Regions from separate parts of the Homo sapiens genome. Here region 1 is linked to region 2. The links are contacts of gene promoters, found by promoter capture Hi-C in human tissues and cell types (Jung and others, 2019). All regions are on one chromosome and are shown on one strand. Each heading gives the region's core, a stretch centred on a gene start or on the middle of the fragment in contact. The rest is flanking DNA. Distances are from core to core; before and after follow the strand shown.

Region 1 (6,784 bases), core at 2,674-5,173, 250 kb before region 2:
GCTCATTGAGTTACAGTAGGATTGTATCCAGATAAACCCGCTGTAAATTGAAAACATAATAAGTCAATTTACAATACTTTCAATTTATGATGGGTTTATCGGGATGTAACCACCTTGTAAGTCAAGAGTGTACTGAAAGCATACAGCTTTCCCACTGTCGCAAAGTTGAAAAATCATTAAGTTGAACCATTGTTAAGTTGGGGGCCCCCTGTATTCCCAAAGTTGATTATTTGGGAAAATCTAGCAGATTTAAGGAAAAACAAAAAAATGAAAAAGTCATACCCATAAGCCTTAATCTCAAGGGATGTGGAAAATCAGCATCAATTTCTGTTTTTAGCAATTCCTTAGCAATGGCAAATATTTCTTCTGCAGTAGAAACAACAGATGAAACTGTAGATGCACGAGTTTTTACTTCAAAATTCACATTCTTCAACTTAATGGTAACAGTTCTACCCTATAACATATACAATATGTTATTTATTTATTTATGAGACAGGGTCTCTCTCTGTTGTCCATGCTGGAGTGCGCTGGCACAGCTGTAGCTCACTGCAGCCTTCAACTTCTGGGTTCAAGCAATCCTCTTGCCTCAGCCTCCTGAGTAGCTAAGATTACAAGTGCGTGCCAGTACACCAGCTAATTTTTTATTTTTTTGTAGAATCAGAGTCTCACTATGTTACCCAGGCTAGTCTCAAATTCCTGGCCACAAGCGATCCTGGCCTCCCAAAGTGTTGGGATTATAGGCATGAGCTACTGCACCCAACCAGAATACATTATTCTGTATGACTTCCTAACTTCTAGAAAAAAGTCATTTACATGTTAGAAAAATTCAGAAAGGTTTACGGACATAAGAATATGGAATTATAACCAATTATTTATAAAACATGGTGATAAACATATCATAAAGAATAAGAGGCCGGCTGCAGTGGCTCACGCCTGTAATCCCAGCATTTTGGGCGGGCGGATCACGAGGTCAGGAGTTCAAGACCAGCCTGGCCAACATGGTGAAACCCTGTCTCTAATAAAAATACAAAAATTAGCTGAGCGTGATGGCAGGCACCTGTAATCCCAGCGGCTGGGGAGGCTGAGGCAGGAGAATAGATTGAAGCCAGGAGATGGAGGTTGCATTGAGCCGAGATCACACCATTGCACTCCAGCCTGTGTGACAGGGCAAGACTCTGTCTCAGAAAAAAAAAGAATAATTAAAATACCATTTTAGCCAAAAACGTTTACTTCCCTTTCCAAACATAAGCTAAAATCCCATTTTATTTTGTTTTTGAGATGGGGGTCCCATTCTATTGCCCAGGCTGGAGTACAGTGGCATGATCGTGGCTCACTGCAGCTTTGACCTCCCAGGCTCATGCTATCCTCCTACCTCAGCCTCCCAAGTAGCTGGGACTACACACTCGTGCCACCATGCCCAGCTAATTTTTACATTTTCTTTGTAGAGACGTGATTTTGCTATGTTGTCCAGGCTGGTCTTGAACTCCTGGGCTCAAGCAATCCTCTGGCCTCAGCTTCCCAATGTGCTGGGATTACAGGCATGAGCCACTATGCCTGACCTAAAATCCCATTTTAGCCAGTAATTTTTATTCCCCTTCCCAACTGAATTTTTTTGTTTGTTTTTTTTTTTGTTGTTTTAGACAGAGTCTCACTCTGATGCCCAGGCTGGAGTGCAGTGGCGGGATCTTGGCTCACTGCAGCCTCTGCCTCCCAGGTTCAAGTGATTCTCCAGCCTCAGCCTCCAGAGTAGCTGGGATTACAGGTGCCCGCCACCATTTTTAGTAGTGATGGGGTTTCACCATGTTGGCCAGGCTGGTCTCAAACTCCTGACCTCAGGTGATCCCCCTGCCTTGGCCTCCCAAAGAGCTGGGATTACAGGAATGAGCCACCGTGCCTGGCCCCCCAACTGAATTTTTATAAAAGACCATTACAAGAGGGAAAGGTTAAATGATCACTTTTATTTTTACTGAATCTCTTTTGGAGGTTGATTAATTACCTACAAAGGAAGGAAAAAAATCTTTCTAAAAGTGTCTCACTGAAAACGACTTATGAATAGTTCACACTTATTGTGTGCCTTCTGCATTGCCAGATGCTATGCCAAACAATTTAATGTAAGAATTCCCTTTACACTTAGTGTTTTATGAGTGCAGGGTTTCAGTGGAGACAATGAAACAGTTCTAGAGATGGGTGGTGGTGATGGTTATAAAACAATATGAACTGTACACTTAAAAATGGTTAAAATGTAAATTTTATGTTATGTATATTTTAGTATCCCCTGGAGGAGGAAGTTAATTCCTGCTCTCTCTCATCTGAGGGTAGTTAGATTTACTGACTTACTTCCAAAGGGAAAAACACTAACTTCACAGTGGAGAAGCCTAGCAAACACTAACCAAGTGATGAAGGTTAATATCAACCATGACATCATGTGGCTATTATACACCCCATGATAGGATGTTATGAGAAGGACACTTCCTCTTTGTGATACTCTTTCTAAAAATCCATAACCCTGATCTAATCATGAGAAAATCATCAGACAAACCCAAATTGGGCGACATTCTGCAGAATACCTGTATAGTACTACCCAACACTGTCAAGGTCATGAAAAAGAAGGAAAAACTAAGAAACTATCACAGACCAGGAAACTGGAGAGACATGACAGCTAAATGCAATGTAGTCCCCTGGACTGAATTCTGGAAGGCAGAGACGACATTAATGGAAAAATAAGTAAACTCCAAATAAAGTCTGGGGTTAATAATTGACAATGTATTAAATGTCAGTTTCTTATTTTTGACAAATGTACTCTGGTAATATGTTAATAATGGAGGAAACCAGGTGAGGAGTATGCTGAAATTCTATTATTTTTGTGACTTTTCTGGAAATCTAAAATGATCATAAAATTAAATGTTTATTTAAATATTTTTTAAAAAGAAAATTCTTTAAATTCAAGGTATGATAGAGAAAGATACTCATCAGATATTCCACTCTTTGTAGTAATTTTTTTAAAACAAATTTTTTACTGATTAGCATAATAGTTTTACTGATGCATTATATGAACATAGTAAATTATCACATGTACCTCATAGTTTTGATCTTTGTAAAGATCAAATAAGTGTACTTCGGATATCTATCACCTTAAATATTTGTATTTTCTTTATGCGAGAAACATTCAAATTATTCTCTTCTAGCTATTCTGGTATGTAACACAGATTACTGTACACTATAGTCACCTTACTGATCTATTGAACACTAGGTCTTATTTCTTCTATCAAACCAGATATTTGTACCTGTGTAGCAATTTTAAAATACCTTTTTATTACGCTTTGTACTGACTCTACCTCTGGTTTGAGAGTGTTGGGAATACACTAAATATAAATTGTTGTGAGTGAAGATTATAAAATAGCAAGTTCAAAGCCTTATAGGTTTTGTTGTCCTGTGTTAAGCAACCTGGACTACAACCTTGAAACAAAATGCCTATTTTAGAAGGTCATTGTCTAAGTAAGAAAAACATTAAAGGATGATTGGAAAGACATTTGTAATATGTGAATACAATTCTCTGGAAATCCTTTCTTTTGCCTTATTCTCTAATGCCAGTGTAACTTTGGTTTTAACTTATTCAAATGTACTCCTGAGGTACAGAAGTAAAGTCCTCTGAATTATACTGAACCACTCTATTCTCATAAGGTGCTTCTTCATAGAATCACCTCATCACAGACTCCAGATATGGGTCAGAATTGGATTTGTATCTGACTGTTGGGGATAGGAATACACTATTCTGACGTTTATTAATTTGTATTCATCTTTAAGAAATGTGTAATCTAACTCTAGCTTTTAAGGTAGCATTTTACTATTAAAAAACTTAAAAACTAAGGACACCATATCAAAATAAAGCACCTTAAGTCTTTCTTTCTGTAGATCCTGAGCAAGCTCACTGCAAAGTTCTTGACATAGGCTGTATTGCTCTTCCGCTTTATTTATCTCACTGAATGTCCTAGAAAGACAAGAATAATTTTGGCGCACAAAGTAAACTATAATCCAGGATAATTTGGAAATGGTATGCATGTTTATATGGCTAGCATTAAGTTATATTTTTCTGTATTACAAAATAAAGTTTTCAGATGAACTAAAATTTAATTAAGTAAAAACATCTAAGATCTATATAAATAATGGAAACCCACCTAAACAGGAAAGCTTGATTAGCAAAGAAACAATTTTATGCTCTTGCTCTATTATATCACAAAAAAGATAATTAAAATTACCAACAGATAATGGTAATGCCTCCAGAACTTAAAACAGATTAGGGTATATGTATATATAGACTTTATTACAGAAGATTATCTTAAGAAAGTCCAAATGAGAACATCATTCCAATTACTGCACATGGATTTTATGGATGAGAAACATCTTTAAGTAGATTTAAGGGGTTGGCTCATGGAACCTACGCAGAGTTGTTTAATAGACAGCTGAAAATAGAAGGCTGATAAGATTAAATGTAGGTATTTTGAATTCATCTGCAAAAAAGTGTTGAAAGAAGTTGACAAGTGATATTAACTTAAAAGAGGATAATACAAAGAGACCAGAATGATGAGTATGGACCCTGAGCAAGTGACTCTTCAGTAAAGAGTCCCCTTTCTACTTCTAACCTTATCCTCAGCTACTCAGTTCTCTTCCCTAGTGGCAACCAATGTGTCAGCTTCTTATTCTTATGAATTCCTTAGAAATATTCCACGTATACGGGCGCCTGTAGTCCCAGCTACTCGGGAAGCTGAGGCAGGAGAATGGCGAGAACCCAGGAGGCGGAGCTTGCAGTGAACCGAGATCGCACCACTGCACTCCAGCCTGGGCGACAGAGCGAGACTCCCTCTCAAAAACAAACAAAAAAAAGAAATATTCCACGTGTGTGTGTGTGTGTGTGTGTGTGTGTGTGTGTGTGTGTGTGTGTGTGTATGTGTGTATATATATAAAATAAGCAAACAAGAAGACATTTTCCTCTCATTTTTTATATAAACAGTAGAATTTTAGATACATTGTTTAGTACCCTGCTTTTCTCAATTTATCATGGTGAGAGTTCCCCATGAGTAAATGATTTCCTCATTTTTATACAGCAGCATAATATTCTAATTTAATGATGTAAGGTAATTTAACCAATTCTCTATTCATGGATATTACAGTTTTTTTCTATCATAAAAAATGCAGTGAGTAACCCTGTATATATGTAAAATGACATGTGACTAAATCTGTGGAATTAATTCTTAGTAAAAGAATTATGGCATCAAAGTACATGTGTATCTGTGATTTTGATACATATTATGAAATTTCTTACCCCCTGTGGTAGGCTAGATAATGGTCCCTAAAGATGTCCACATCCTAATCCCTGGAATCTGTGAACCTAGTATCTTACATGACAAAAGGGATTTAGCAGAGGTGATTAAATTCTGACGGACAGAGATTACTCTGGAATGTCCAGCTGTGCCCAACGTAATCCCAAGGGTCCTTATAAGAAGGAGGCAGGAGGGTTAGAGTCAGAGAAAGAAGTTGCTGAGGCTATGAGCCAAAGATTCTGTGGCCTCTAGAAGCTTTTCATAAAGAAATGGACTCTCTCCCAGAGCTTCTAGAAGAAATGGAACTCTACCAACACATTAACTTTAGAACCGCTGACTTTCAGAATGATAGAGAATAAATTTGTTTTGTTTTGAGCCACTAAATTTGTAGAAATTTGTTTTAATAGCAATAAAAAAACCTAATGTACTCCCTCTAAAGTTTACACATTTTTCACTCCTACAGTCTTGCCAATAGAGTATGTTAGAATCTTTGCCAACCTGACTAGTGAAAGAAAGGTATCTGAGAGAACTTTCAATCTGTATTTCTTTAATTATAAATGAAAATGGTAGTAATTTCACTTGTTTTAAGAGCCATTTGTATTTCCTTTTCTGTTAATTATTTAGAACTTTGTTCATTTCTTCTGTTGGCTTACTGTTCCTTTTTATTGATTATGAGTTCTTTCTATATTAGAGAAGTTAGTTAGTTTGTGATATAAATTGCAACCTCCTTTCCCCCAACTTCATACCAAATTTGATGTTATATTGCCCATTTTAGAAAGCCAAGGGGAGAAAGTTTCCAGAAAAAAAAAGTGGAGAACACATTCCTGTACATAAAATAGTTTTCCCAATAGCAGAGAAAATGGCAGAGAAATTTATCAAATATGGCAATACTATTTTGCTTTTGGATTTTTTTTTTCTCTCTCTCTTTGATTGCTTTCATATGGACCAAAACCTAAAATAGCAATTTTTATCAAAGCCATTTATTATGTTGTATTGTAAAAGTTAATCAGCTTTTCTGACCACAAATAATATATGTGAAATATGAACACAATCTTGTACTAGGTCAGTGTTTTGTTTTGTCTTGTTTTGATTTTGAGACAGAGTCTCACTCTGTCACCTAGGCTGGAGTGGAGTGAGTGGTGCCATCTCAGCTTACTGCAAACTCCACCTCCTGGGTTCAATTCTTGTGCCTCAGCCACCCAAGTAGCTGGGATTAAAGTTTAAGCGACCACACCGGGCTGATTTTTGTATTTTTAGTAGAGTCAGGGTTTTGCCATGTTGGCCAGGCTGGTCTCGAACTCCTGGCCTCAAGTGATCTGCCCACCTCAGCCTCCCAAAATGCTGGGATTACAGGGGTGAGCCACCTTGCCGGGCCCTAGGTCAGTGTTTCTTAAATGTCTCAGTGGAAACTTGCTGCTTTGAGGAGATAATTGAGGGATGTTTCAAACAATGACTTATTTCCCCAA
Region 2 (6,529 bases), core at 336-2,835:
TTATGAAGCTAGAGCTCCAAAGTTCTCTGACAAAGATAAGTGTTAAATGGAATCATATGAAACTGCTATTTTTGTAGGTTAGTTGAATTTTAAATACTGGCAATTTCACATGGGTCAACCTAAGTAGACCATGTAATTCCATAATGTGGCTATCTATAGTCTAGAAACTAGACCATAAAGGAATACAAAGAGTGTGTGCATGCACGCATACTCACACTCTTATCTTGAAATGGTTATCCCACATACCCGACAATTTTCATGTTAATGCTGTAACCTATGTGCAATTTTGTTTAACCTTCATGTTACTAATTCCCATTTGTTTTGGCCACCAAGTTTATCATAAGTTCTGGAAGAACACTACAACAAAGCAGGCCTGCAAAATCCAGCCTATCCCCAAAGTACTGTCCAGGTCTTTGCTAGATTATCTCTAAATTGCAAAATGCCTTTCACTGCATGGAGAGGAAAATAAATTCATAAGTAAACAAAAAGTACATTCTCTACCTTGTGGGACGCCGAAATCATGCACATTTAGTATAGCCCAGAAACAAATGCTTCCTACGACTCTGCAGGACCATGTCTAAGAAGGAATATCCTCAAATCCTGAAATATTTCAAACGACTACTTAAGAATGGAGTACATCGACCTCCTCCTACTGCAGAAATTAACTGTTCTATATTTGTATCTCCAAGGTACATTTTTCCTAAAAGAATATCAGCACCAAGGAGACTACACCCCTTACCAAAAAAAAAAAAAAAAAAAGAGGGAGAAGAATCTTTTGAGTCATTGTGCGAATCCCCACGTTGGGCTCCGCATCCTCTCAAGCCGTTCTCCTGTAAATAACCAGACACATCTACACCAATCCACGGTTCTTTCATGGTTCTAAGTTAGTCAGCAGTATTTACAGAGATCTTTCCCGTCACCTAAAAGAAAGGTGCTAACGAACAGCAGTTCCTGGGCGTGAATGCCCGGATCCCGGGATGCAGGCGCTTCTCCCGTCTGCCCTGCGAGCTGCCGGCCCGACAGCCCCATAGACCCCTAGCATTTCTCGAATCCAGGGGCCTCCGAGGTCACCCTGCCTGACACCCTTTCCGCCCCGATTTTCGTGACCGTGCAGCCAGCACTGCCTACTCTGACTGAACAGGGACGATGAACGCAGCTACGCCCCGCGGGTCCACCGATGATGACCGCAGTCACGAAGAGGCCAGACCGCCGCCCGCCTCTCAAGCCCACCCCGGGACCCCGGGTTACTCCGGCACTGATGCCGGCCGCCGCTCGGCCTGCCGGGCCTCAAGGACATTCCTTGCAGTCCCCGCGGGTCCGAGCTGCCACACCGACAAAGCGCAACCGCAGCCCCCTCCAGGTCCGCAGGAGCTGCCGGTAGCCACTTCCCAGGGCCGAGGGAAGCTCCAGAATTGCCACCAACACAGCCCAAACCCCGCTCCCACCCATCTCCGCCCCGCTCCCCGCCGCCCCTGCCCCTCTTCTCGGTCACCGCCCGCCTCACCTCCAGATCTCACTAGAGGCCACCGAACCCCGGCGCCGACGCTCAGCCTGGCTCCAGTTAACGCAGTCGCGGAGCGGAAGGAGCCCTCACCTTACGCACGCTCGGAGCTGGACGAGCCTTCGACCAATAAGAGAGGATCGTTCGATTGTCTAGCCAATCGCCTGGGGGCTGCTCGGCCTGACGGCGCTACGTCACGAACGGTCGCCTTAACAACCGCCCACAGCTCTCTGCAGGGCCAAGAACAGGCACCGCACCATCTCTCACCACGGCTCGGCCAACCAATAGCCGTTCGAGTCCCAGCACTAGGGCCTGCCTATTGGTCCTAGAGCTGTGGGGGCGCACGCATGGCAGCTGCCTAGGCGGAGGCGATAGGGGACCAGGCGGGTGGAGTGTCCCACAGCCTCAGTGCCTGACCCGTGCTCGTCCTGGCTGTGATAGTACAGTAGGAGGCAGTGATAGGAAGCAGAATCGGAGCGTGAGGGAAAACGCAGGGTCAGGTCGATGACTGAAAGCTCAGTTACTAGCGCGGGAGAGATGGAGGGAAGCGGAGGCGGCCATGAGAAAAAGAGGAATATAAAAAAAGGGAAGGTGGCGGCGACGGGCACCTCAAACCTGTAACTGGCCGGTAGCCGAAACCAGCGCTTTCCCGAGATTTACCCATTAGTGTAAATGGCTCCGGTCACCTGCGTCTCTCTCTCTTGTGTGCGACATCCATTGCATACTGGATTCTCTCTGAAATGTGCCTCTCCTGCGTCTTCTGTGCGTTCCTTCTGCTCTCCGCCTGGTGCAGGGCTTTATTATGTCTTACTTAAAACAGTGCAATAGCCTCTCCTAACTGGTCTTCCCAGTCTTACACGCATGCACTTCCCAATCTGTCCTGCAGAACTCCCACATGCAGTATGTGGCATACTACTTCCTATTATGCCATAGACCCAAATCAGCGTTTCTCATTGTCTACTGGATTAAAGAAAGAACCTGTCACCACTAATATGGCCCCACCACACATTTCTGACGTATCTCTACTTTCCTGTGCGAACCTTACAGTTCAGCCAGGAGTAACTGGCCCTTCTTCAGTCACACTCAGTACCTTTTTACCTCCCTGCTTATGTTCTCTTTGTTTACCTTGGATATGCCTACCCATTTTAACTGCTGAGATCCTAAATATCCCTTAAGGACTTTTTCATATGCCACCTCCTTTCCTAATTCCCTCAAACACATCATCACTCCCGACCTTGAAAACCCATAAAATTTCCGTAGTATTTTTTTATTTGTCTTACTATCGTATGTGGAAATTTATTAAGGACAGGAATTGTATTTCACTCAATTTTTAAAGCCCATATTTTGAAACACATTACGAAGAAAACACTAAACACTCCTTAGTTTTAATAAATGATTATAGATTCTTATAATCCTTATATAATAGGTATTATTCCCATTTTACAAAAAAGTAAAAATTAAAGTTTGTCAAGCAACTTGCTGTAGATCACATAGATAATGAGCAAAACTGGAATTTGAACCCAGATCTAATGCTTAGGCTGGTTCTACTGTTCCCCACTGCTTCAGTGTAAGACCTTCATTCATATCTCTTTACCAAATGTTGCCTTTGAAATGCTCATTATGTGAAGTACACACTGTGGTTGGCATGGGAGATATAGTGACAAACATGACAGACATAGTGCCTGCCTTTATGAACCTTGCACAGTAAAGAAAACGGGTGAACTACCCAAAGATTGCAGTGTTCTCTTAGCAGCCTTGTCAAAAAAAAAAAAAAAAAAGAGAGAAAAGTGTGTAAGTACCGAGAGCCTAGAACCTGTCATATTTTTAATGCCGCTAGAAGTCTCAAGGACCAAATATCTCAGAAGTTACAGGTTGTACACATGCCTACTAATGTAATTCAAATAAGGACTAAAGTTGTTACCAAAACAGGCTTTAGCCCAAGATTTAGAAATTTTCATTCGCAAACTGCCTAATTGGGAACTCCAATAGGAATATGAGTTCCAAAGCAAGCAATAAAGAAACACCAGTTGTCTAGTTTTATGCTCTTAAAATAAATTCTATATCCTTCCCAAAAGGTATTTCAAAAGAATCTTTATAGCACTTAACTAATAATTTGTACTTAGTGATAAATCACAAAATTTGGTATGGACACAAGGTAGAAAGGGAGGGTGGGGGAAGCGCCAAGGAAGTCCATGTGCCGCTTCCTCATATGCATTTAACCCTTCAAGGAAAGAGTTTATAAAAGTATAATTTTTTTATTTTTAGAGACAGAGCCCAGGCGGGCGTGCAGTAATGGGTCCGGAATTGGAGGGTTCTTGGTCTCACTGACTTCAAGAATGAAGCCGTGGACTCTCGCGGTGAGTGTTAACAGCTCTTAAGGTGGCGCGTCTGGAGTCTGTCCCTTGTGATGTTCAGATGTGTTCGGAGTTTCTTTCTTCTGGTGGGTTCGTGGTCTCGCTGGCTCAGGAGTGAAGCTGCAGACCTTCGCGGTGAGTGTTATAGCTCTTAAGGCAGCGCGTCCGGAGTTTTTCGTTCCTCCCAGTGGGCTCTTAGTCTTGCTGGGCTCAGGAGTGAAGCTGCAGACCTTCGTGGTGAGTGTTACAGCTCATAAAAGCAGCGTGGACCCAAAGAGTGAGCAGTAGCAAGATTTATTGCAAAGAGCAAAAAAACCAAGCTTCCACAGTGTGGAAGGGAACCCGAGCTGGTTGCCAATGCTGGCTCAGGCAGCCTGCTTTTATTCTCTTATCTGGCCCCACCCACATCCTGCTGATTGGTAGAGCCGAGTGGCCTGTTTTGTCAGGGCACTGATTGGTGCGTTTACAATCCCTGAGCTAGATACAAAGGTTCTCCACGTCCCCATCAGATTAGTTAGATACAGTTTCCACACACAGGTTCTCCAAGGCCCCACCAGAGCATCTAGATACAGAGTGTCGATTGGTGCACTCACAAACCTTGAGCTAAACACAGGGTGCTGATTGGTGTGTTTACAATCCCTGAGCTAGACATAAAGGTTCTCCAAGGCCCCACCAGAGCAGCTAGATACAGAGTGTCGATTGGTGCACTCACAAACCTTGAGCTAAACACAGGGTGCTGAATGGTGTATTTACAATCCCTGAGCTAGATATAAAGACTCTCCACGTCCCCACCAGACTCAGGAGCCCAGATGGCTTCACCCAGTGGATCCTGCACCAGGGCTGCAGGTGGAGCTGCCTGCCAGTCCCGCGCCGTGCGCTCACACTCCTCAGCCCTTGGGTGGTCGATGGGACTGGGCGCCGTGGAGCAGGGGGTGGTGCTCGTCGGAGAGGCTGGGGCTGCACAGGAACCCACGGAGTGGGTGGGAGGCTCAGGCATGGCGGGCGGCAGGTCCCGAACCCTGCCCTGCGGGAAGGCAGCTAAGGCTCCGTGAGAAATCGAGCGCAGCGCCGGTGGGCTGGCACTGCTAGGGGACCCAGTACATCCTCCGCAGCCACTGGCCTGGGTGCTAAGTCCCTCATTGCCCGGGGCCAGCAGGGCTGGCTGGCTGCTCCGAGTGTGGGGCCCGCCAAGCCCACGCCCACCCGGAACTCCAGCTGGCCCGCAAGCGCCGCACGCAGCCCCGGTTCCCGCTCACGCCTCTCCCTCCACACCTCCCTGCAAGCTGAGGGAGTGGGCTCCAGCCTTGGCCAGCCCAGAAAAGGGCTCCCACAGTGCAGTGGAGGGGGGGGCTGAAGGGCTCCTCAAATGCTGCCAAAGTGGGAGCCCAGGCAGAGGAGGTGCCAAGAGCAAGCGAGGGCTCTGAGGACTGCCAGCACGCTGTCACCTCTCAGTAACACGATCTTAGCTCACTGAAACCTCTGCCTTCTGGGTTCAGCGATTCTCTTGCCTCAGTCTCCTGGGTAGCTGGGATTACAGGGGTGCACCACCATGCCCGGCTAATTTGTGTGTGTGTGTGTGTGTGTGTGTGTGTGTGTGTGTGTGTGTGTATATGTATACATACACTTTGTTTTTCTTTTTGAGACGGAGTCTCGTTCGGTCGCCCATACTGGAGTGCAGTGGGGCGATCTTGGCTCACTGCAAGCTCCGCCTCCTGGGTTCACGCCATTCTCCTGACTCAGCTAGCTTCCCAAGTAGCTGGGACTGCAGGTGTCAGCCACCACGCCCGGCTAATTTTTTTGTATTTTTAGTAGAGACGGGGTTTCACCGTGTTAGCCAGGATGGTCTCAATCTCCTGACCTCGTGATCCGCCCGCCTCGGCCCCCCAAAGTGCTGGGATTACAGGCGTGAGCCACCGCGCCTGGCCCAATTTTTGTATTTTTAATAGAGACGGGGTTTCGCCATATTGGCCAGGCTGGTCTCGAGCTCCTGACCTCAAGCAACCCGCCCGCCTCAGCTTCCCAAAGTGCTGGGATTACAAGCGTGAACTACCGCACCCGCCTAAAAGTATAATGTTAAGACCCCCTTTAAAAGTAATGAATGACCCACATTGCCATCTTAATCCATCCTCTTTACTATTTACATATATAAATGTGTTAGGCTTCCAACCTTAACATTTCTGGTTTTTGTTGTCATGAGTCATGCTTAAAGATGGGGAATTATAACAAAAACAATAATACTAAAATATTTATATTGCTGCTTCTATATGTCAGCCACTTGTCTAAGTGCTTTTGATATATTAACTCCTTTTATTAAAAGTCCACTGAGGAGAACAATAGTAGAATCTGCATTTTACAAAGGATGAAGCTACAGAAACAGAGATGTTAGGTAATTTGCCTAATTCCACATAGCTTGGAAGTAGCAGAGCCAGAATATAAACTTTGAAATGTGGCTCCCAAGCATATGCCCTAAACCACTCCACTGTCTTATCTTTTGTATTAGCATAATGTGCACTATTTTGTATTAGTACATATCGTATGATTGTTTAATTTTCTGATGCTTCATTACAAAAGACTTTTCATAATATCAGTGAAGAGTTGTACTTGTTTCCCTTTACAGCTCCCAGCTGTGTTCAAATTTGTATTTTCCAGCCTTGGGCAGTTTTCTTTCTCTTTG

What was found. The method cuts DNA at HindIII sites, captures the fragments that hold promoters and counts their contacts. A contact is called where the count stands out against the background at its distance.
Region 1: a contact is called between a fragment that was not itself captured here and the fragment with the promoter of HMGCR in region 2, in 1 of the 25 tissues and cell types used here (lymphoblastoid cells).

The regions. Positions count from the first base shown.
Region 1 is chr5:75,587,548-75,594,331 of GRCh38, reverse strand. It overlaps POLK (DNA polymerase kappa), which reads right to left. Exons shown (of 15, transcript NM_016218.6): 11 at 3,892-3,988; 12 at 283-454. Among named protein-coding and RNA genes, the nearest start is that of ANKDD1B, 21 kb to the left of the region's middle. RefSeq lists an enhancer at 5,117-5,701. The HindIII fragment of the contact is 4,623 bases long and covers 1,612-6,234 here.
Region 2 is chr5:75,332,276-75,338,804 of GRCh38, reverse strand. HMGCR (3-hydroxy-3-methylglutaryl-CoA reductase) reads right to left here and starts at 1,585. Exons shown (of 20, transcript NM_000859.3): 1 at 1,505-1,585. RefSeq lists enhancers at 555-1,113, 1,114-1,674 and a silencer at 1,354-1,473. The HindIII fragment of the contact is 13,606 bases long and covers 1-6,338 here.